Linked DNA regions of Homo sapiens: region 2 is linked to region 1. The links are contacts of gene promoters, found by promoter capture Hi-C in blood cells and fetal thymus (Javierre and others, 2016). All regions are on one chromosome and are shown on one strand. Each heading gives the region's core, a stretch centred on a gene start or on the middle of the fragment in contact. The rest is flanking DNA. Distances are from core to core; before and after follow the strand shown. Region 1 holds the start of SH3GL3 (SH3 domain containing GRB2 like 3, endophilin A3). Region 2 overlaps ADAMTSL3 (ADAMTS like 3).

Region 1 (3,462 bases), core at 495-2,994:
TCTACACATACATTTTTAAATCTCCGCTTAGGCTGGAAATCACCAAAAATCTGTAGCTCCAGTACCAGCCTCACCCCCTGAGCTGCAGGTCAGGATATGCACCCCAACCCAGGCCAGTGACATGTGAATGTCCCAAAGACCCCTCAAAGTCCCTGGGTTCAGTGGTGAATCCATCATCTCCACCCTCACCTGAATAGCCTCTCCTCCAGGGCTCCTTAACACCTTGAATAGCACCACTGTCCACCCAGTGCCCCCAGCTAGAAACAGCATCACCCAGTTTCCATATGGAAAGAGTGTGAGTGAGGGGACAGCAGTGCCTTTCAGCCTGGAACTGGGGCTAGAAGAAGAGAATCTTCTAATTGCAGTTGCTTTCTATGGGCCAATTTGTGGGAGAAGCAGGATGAGACCTCACCACAAATGTGGACGTTGAATGAAATCTGTCTACCCTGGCTCTAGCAAAATGGGGGCTGGGGTTGCGGGGAGAGGTGGTGAGAAGCAACAGACCCAGCGGTGCTGGTGGGGAACAGGTTTTACAACGTGAGCTCTGCCATAGCTGGAAGAGCCTGCAATGTTGATGTTGAAAAACAAATTTGCTTGTCATCAACACACACACACACACACACACACACACACACACACACATCAATTTCATGTCTCCCCTCCTGTTTTCCTGTTTCCTCTGCTCAGAACGGCTTTCCTCCTATCATCCCACACCCTCAGCCATAATTCTTCCTCATACTTAATTCTCAAATGACATGTCTCCTCCTCCGGGAAGCTCTCCCTGACGCCCCCACTGTGTTATTTGTCATCCTCTGTGCGTGGAGGTGTGTCTAGCACTGTTTGTTTACGTGTCTGTCTCCGTGTCTCCCCTGCAGGCTGTCAGCTCTGTAAGAGCAGAAGCGTGATGCCCAGCCCCGGGCCGACACCGGGAAGACGGTGGGGAGGGGAAGGACCGCGGTAGAGAGCCCCAGCCGGGGAGCCGGGCACAGTCCAGACGGGGCCATTTCGATGCGCGCGCGGGGAGCTCAGCGGGACACAGCCAAGCGCCAAATACACAGCATCTCTGGAGGCGCCGGTGGCCGGTGGAGGATGGGCCCCCCACGAGGCTCTCCCAACCAAACGGCTGGAGACTCGGGGGAGGCCCTGCCGGCATCGTACTCCCTGTGGTCGTCCTCCCCTCGCGCGGGTAGGGGCCCCCCCACGCCCACTCCGTCTCCGCCTCCCGAGTCCCCGCGGCCGCCACCTCTGCCCTCCGCTCCGCAGAATCTCTCCGATTTACAACGGCCCAGGGCAGAGCCGGGGGCCAGGGAATGGGAAGGAGAAGGCGCCAAGACGCCGAGGAGAGAGCAGGCGGCCCCTCACCCCACCCTCGCGCCCTCCTAGGCGGGAAGAAATTGAGCCCCGAGAGAGGCCCTTCAGGGAACAGGAGTCCCAAAGGCCCGGGAGCCTCGGGGGGCCGCAGCCTCCGCGTCCCCCTCCCTCCTTCCCTCCTCTGCGCCTCCCTACCTGGCTGGCTTTGTGGAACTGCTTCTTCAGCCCGGCCACCGACATCGCGACTGCGACCGGCAGGGGCGGGGTGGTCTCAAGGCTCGGCTGGGCCACGCGGCCGCGACGCGCTCGGGGAGCGGGAGCCCGGGCCGGTCCCCCCGCGGCTGGGCTCCGCCGGGCCCGCCTCCCACGGCCACGGCCACAGCCACAGCCGCTGTCACACTCGCACACACGCGCGCACGCCGATGGCAACACTGCGTTCCAAAGCCCCTGCGCAGCCCATTGGCCAAGCCGCGGCGATATGCAAATGAAGCTGCTGGGGCCGCCCACGCTTCATTGTTGCGTGGAGACCTGGGCTACTTGAGCCGCGCAGAAGACCGGCCTGGGAAGCTGGGCGTGGGGATGTCCTGGGGGTCGGGGGAGTACAGTCACACAGTGCTTCTTGCTGGGCGCGGGACGATATAGATCTAGCTCTGAGATTGTCATGGGTACCGGGAGAGAGATCAGTTCTCTCTGCTTCTGTCTTGGTGCCGAACCGGCTTTGGCTCACAGGCAACATCGCCTCCCTCCGGCGCATTTTCGCTCGGTGTATGTTTAAGAAAGGAAGGCTCAGAAATGCGCCTAGGGAGGGACAACAAATGCAACTCGATGGGGGACCTGTGGTAGGAGGAAGCGGTCTGTGGGTGGCGGGCTTTCTTCTCTCTCCACGCGGTGCTCTGGGTGCAATCTGCTCAAATGATTTTGGTCTTCTGGGAGCCCTAGAGTTATGGAGTAATTTACTAATAAATACGGTGCTAGCTCACTTGGTGCTCTGAGCCCGCTGTCAACGGCACTAAAAGCAACCATCTCCAAGGTGCCATAAAGAGCTCGTTGCATATCCGGCGGAGTCCACCAGACCAGGAACCCAGCTCTCTCGGTAACCCCTACCAGCTGTGTCAGTTACAGAGTGTCCATTTGCACAGAGTCCAGAGGTCGACGCACTCACAGCTAAGCCCAGCCAGGGACATGGAGCATTGCGTTAACCTCGTGTTAGAGCTATCCCCAAAAGGTACAGCATCTTCGCTGAATCTGGCTTCCAAAGGTCCCGAGGATTCCCAAACCTAGAATATATGTTTGGCAACGCTTCACACTGAAAAACAAAAACATTTCCCACCTTCAGTCTCTTTTTGGGCCCTTAGCAGGTCCCATCTGGGGTGACGAGCAGTCCCTGTCTGCCCTGGACACTTCGGGTATATGCCTGTGCCCTGGTGTCCACCTGCCATAACATTTCTCCAGGACAAAAGTCATGCAGTTCCTCCCCTAGCTGTTAGCTCCCAGCGCCCAGTCGGGGCTAGTCCTAACCCTGACTTCATCCTAGTGAGGACTGGGCAAGTAAGTACACACCTCTCTGGGCCTTGGTTTCCTCACTTCTACTTGAAGCATGTAGACTGGAATAAACAGTGTTCCTCCTCTGATACTGGGGAAAAAATGCTTGAACTTAGTGGAGATCGTGGGATAAGGGCAGCCAGTCAGAGGGTTAATGAGCATGACTTGGGTGAGTGTTGTGGGCTTACCTGCCTGACACCAGCCACTGATAGATAACTAAAAAGTGTGAGGGTGGTGACAGCTGGGTCAGAATGGCGTAGCAAGATGACCTGTCCATACAACAGTTCAAATGCCTCTCAACAGTGGGCTTCACCGCAGGCCAACCACTACATAAGGCAGAGAGCCAGCTGCAGCTGGAGTCCAGGATTGGCAGGTCTCTCTTGTCCTAGGCTATTCAGGGCTGCTCAGCTTCCTCTTTCTCCATGCTCCAGAGAGGTTTAAATAGCACCGGTTCTATGGTACCTCCCCCTAGACCAATCCGGCTCTGTGCCCTTTGGGAGGAGGGGGGTGCTTTTTTTTCAAACAGTTTATTGGCATTTCCTCCACAGTCGTTAGTACATTCAAGTTTCTCACTTCAGTTGATTTTGGTAATTTATCTCCTTCATTAAT
Region 2 (3,462 bases), core at 628-3,127, 580 kb before region 1:
TCTGCCTCTTATTTTTTGCTACCTTTGATTGGAAAGTATGTGACATATCTGAGAAACTGACAGAAGGACAGTGTGGCTGGAACATGAAGAGTGAGACAGCATGAGATAATGGATGAGGCTGTGAAGAAAAGTAGGACTTGAGCACGTTTTTTTGTTTGTTTTTTGGTTTGTTTTTTTGAGATAGAGTCTTGCTCTGTTGCCCAGGCTGGAGTACAGTGGTGTGATCTTGGCTCACTGCAGCCTCCACCTCCCAGGTTCAAGCAATTCTCCTGCCTCAGCCTCCCAAATAGCTGGGATCACAGGCATGTGCAACCATGCCCAGCTAATTTTGTATTTTTAGTAGAGACAGGGTTTCACTATGTTGGCAGGCTGGTCTCAAACTCCTGACTTCAAGTGATCTGCCTGCCTCAGCCTCCCAAAGTACTAGGATTACAAGTGTGAGCCACCATGCCCAGCCAAGCATGTGGTATTTTATAGGTCACATTGAGGATTTGGTCAATCTTCCTAAGAGCAAGTAAAACCTCTAAAGTAATTTTAGTCTAGCAGGGAGATGGGTTGTGGTGGTGGTAGGATCAGATTTGCATCTGGGAAAACTCACTCTGGCTGTACTGTGGAGACTGGGTTGGAAAGGAGCATGGATGGATGAAGGGGGACCAGTTGGACAGCTGTGACAGTATACCAGGTGAGATACGATGGTGGTTTGGCCAAGGGTAATGGTGGCAGAAAAGAAAAAATGAAGATGAGTTCAAGAAAAAAAATATAAGGAATAAAAAATCATATAAAAAAGTAATCAGGAAAGTACACATTACAATGAGATAAATTTTCATCCATCAGATTGGCAAAAATTTTAAAAGACTGCAAACCTATATCATGTTGATGAAAAGGGGGCAACTCTCACATATTGCTGGCATAGAAATTTTGATGGCAATTTGATAGCATCAAAATGAGCATTCCTACCAATTCAATTCCATTATCTAAAAATCTACTCTATAAAAATATTACCCTTTGTACCCAAAGATATATGTTCCAGGATATTTACTGAAGCTTAGTTTATAATAGCAAAAAGTTTGAAACTATCCAATGTCCATTAGCAACAGAATATTAAGTACAAAATTTAGATAGAATATTGAGTAGAATAGAGTATTAAGTACAAAATTAAAAAGAATAAAGTTAATCTTTACTTGATGGGAATTATCTATAATATATTCTTAGGTAGAAAAAGCAAGTTTCAGAAAAATATGTATGTGACCCATGTATGTATTTGTGCTTTAAGTATATCTTTGTGAATGCAAAGTAAAGCACCTGGGATGATGCATATCAATCTGTGTGTGGTCTGTATCTTCTCAGGAAAATAGGAAACTTAGGTTGTCTGTTGAGAATGAGAGCAGCCGTTCCAAACATTTTCCATTTGAGGAGAATGGTTTTGGCTTGAAATCACTTTGTGGGGAATAGGAAATGCAACTGACCCTACATTGCCAAACCTTACTGAAGGCTCAAAATGGTAACCCAGCCAACTGTCAAGGTCATCTCATTTTCTCCAGCAAGACTCAGGACATGGAAAAGGAAGAAATAGCCAGATATTGAGCATCTTCCATGACCCAGGCTGCCTCGTGTTTCACACTAAGCTAAATCATTAAAACTTTCTAAACATAAGTTCACATGGATGATAATATCCCACTTTGCAGATTAGGTGGCTAGGCAGTCCAGGGTCACACAGTAAGTGAGTGATATAATAGAACTCCCAAGCCCCCGATTAGTGTGCCTTCTAGGCTCTCTCCCCACTTTCTGCTGGCTGGGGTGCTGTTCTCTTGGATGGTAGAGCTGCCAGATGGAGGGCATCTGGATCTCTGGATGACCCCATGAAAAAAGCTCTTCTATCCCTAAACCATCTACCAGCTCAGACTTTTATAAAAGGAGGAAAGCAAACTCCACCCTTATTTAACCTCCTCAACAAGATTAAAGTTTATTTTACTATCTGCCAACCACTGTGACAATATCCTAATCAAAACATTTTCTAAACAGAGAAATAAAGCAGTTCATTAAAAGCATTAAGAAGATTTAATCTGTAAGCCTAAATGGAATATTATTAGGCTTGATTAACTTAGTATATAGAGGGAGAAGTATCTCCGTTTTCTCAATGATATCCTTTTCCCCTTTTACCACATAGAGTGGTGTCCCTTTATTGTTTAACATCCAAACAATTTATAGTTATAAATAGTGCACATTAACTAGTATTTCAGTATAATATATACTATTGAAGATGACACTAAATAAATCATAATTGAAAACTGTCAATTATGAGAGTTGGTAGAAACTAGAAAGGATTCCATTTTCAGGCAGTTATAATCATTGTCCTGAGTGAGTCAGGAGAGAATGTGTGCTGCTCTGGGGTGGGGCCCCTACCTCTTTCTGTCATCACAGTTGGAGTCAGAGCTGTTGTGTTGACAAGCTGTGTGACGCTGCTGCATCCTCACAGCACGGCCCATGCAACGTCCAGGACACTGGAACAAAAAAGCACAGTGCAGTGTAAATCCTGCAAGCTCATCCATGCTGTGTGTACTAAGATCATGTACTGAGGCAGGATAGCTGAAGACCTATTACAAGGGGACTGTAACCAACTGTCCCCAGGGGGGAGTTAAAGAGGATTAGGGTACAGCTCTGTGGACCAGACACCTCTTTTTCAGAGTCAGGAAGAAACTGCCTAAGCTTACCATCCCCTCTGTATTAGTCCATTTTCACACTGCTCTAAAGACATACCCGAGACTGGGTAATTTACAAAGGAAAGAGGTTTAATTGACTCACAGTCAGCATGGCTGGGGAAGCCTCAGAAGACTTACAATCATGTCAGAAGGTGAAGGGGAAACAAGGCACCTTCTTCACAAGCGGCAAAGAGGAGAAGTGCCAAGTGAAGGGAGAAGAGCCCCCTTTATAAAACAATCAGATCTTGTGAGAACTCACTCACTATCATGAGAATAGCATGAGGGAAACTGTCGCCATGATCCAACTGCCTCCACCTGGTCTCTCCCTTGACATGTGGGGATTGTGGGGATTAAAATTCAAGATGAGATTTGGGTGAGGACAAAAAGCCTAACCATATCATTCTGCCCGTGGCCCCTCCCAAATCTCATGTCCCTTTCACATTTCAAAAGCATTCATGCCTTCCCAACAGTCCCCCAAAGTCTTAATTCATTCCAGCATTAACCCAAAAGTCCAAGTCCAAAGTCTCATCTGAAATAAGGCAAGTCTCTTCTGCCTATGAGCCTGTAACATGAAAAGTAAGTTAGTTACTTCCTAGATACAGTGGAGGTACAGGCAGTGGATAAATACACCCATTCCAAATGGGAGAAGTTGGCCAAAATAATGGGACTATAGGCCCCATACAAGGCCAAAATCCAATGGGGCAGTCAAATCTTAAAGTTCCGATATGATCTCCTTTGACCCCATGTCTCACATCCAGACATG

What was found. The method cuts DNA at HindIII sites, captures the fragments that hold promoters and counts their contacts. A CHiCAGO score of 5 or more calls a contact.
Region 2: a contact is called between a fragment that was not itself captured here and the fragment with the promoter of SH3GL3 in region 1, in 1 of 17 cell types (M2 macrophages). The highest score is 5.3, in M2 macrophages.

The regions. Positions count from the first base shown.
Region 1 is chr15:83,445,623-83,449,084 of GRCh38, reverse strand. SH3GL3 (SH3 domain containing GRB2 like 3, endophilin A3) reads right to left here and starts at 1,744. Exons shown (of 9, transcript NM_003027.5): 1 at 1,507-1,744. The coding sequence starts at 1,551. RefSeq lists an enhancer at 1,889-2,048. The HindIII fragment of the contact is 8,141 bases long and covers 1-3,462 here.
Region 2 is chr15:84,030,374-84,033,835 of GRCh38, reverse strand. It overlaps ADAMTSL3 (ADAMTS like 3), which reads right to left. Exons shown (of 30, transcript NM_207517.3): 28 at 2,404-2,501. Among named protein-coding and RNA genes, the nearest start is that of GOLGA6L4, 200 kb to the left of the region's middle. The HindIII fragment of the contact is 1,662 bases long and covers 1,047-2,708 here.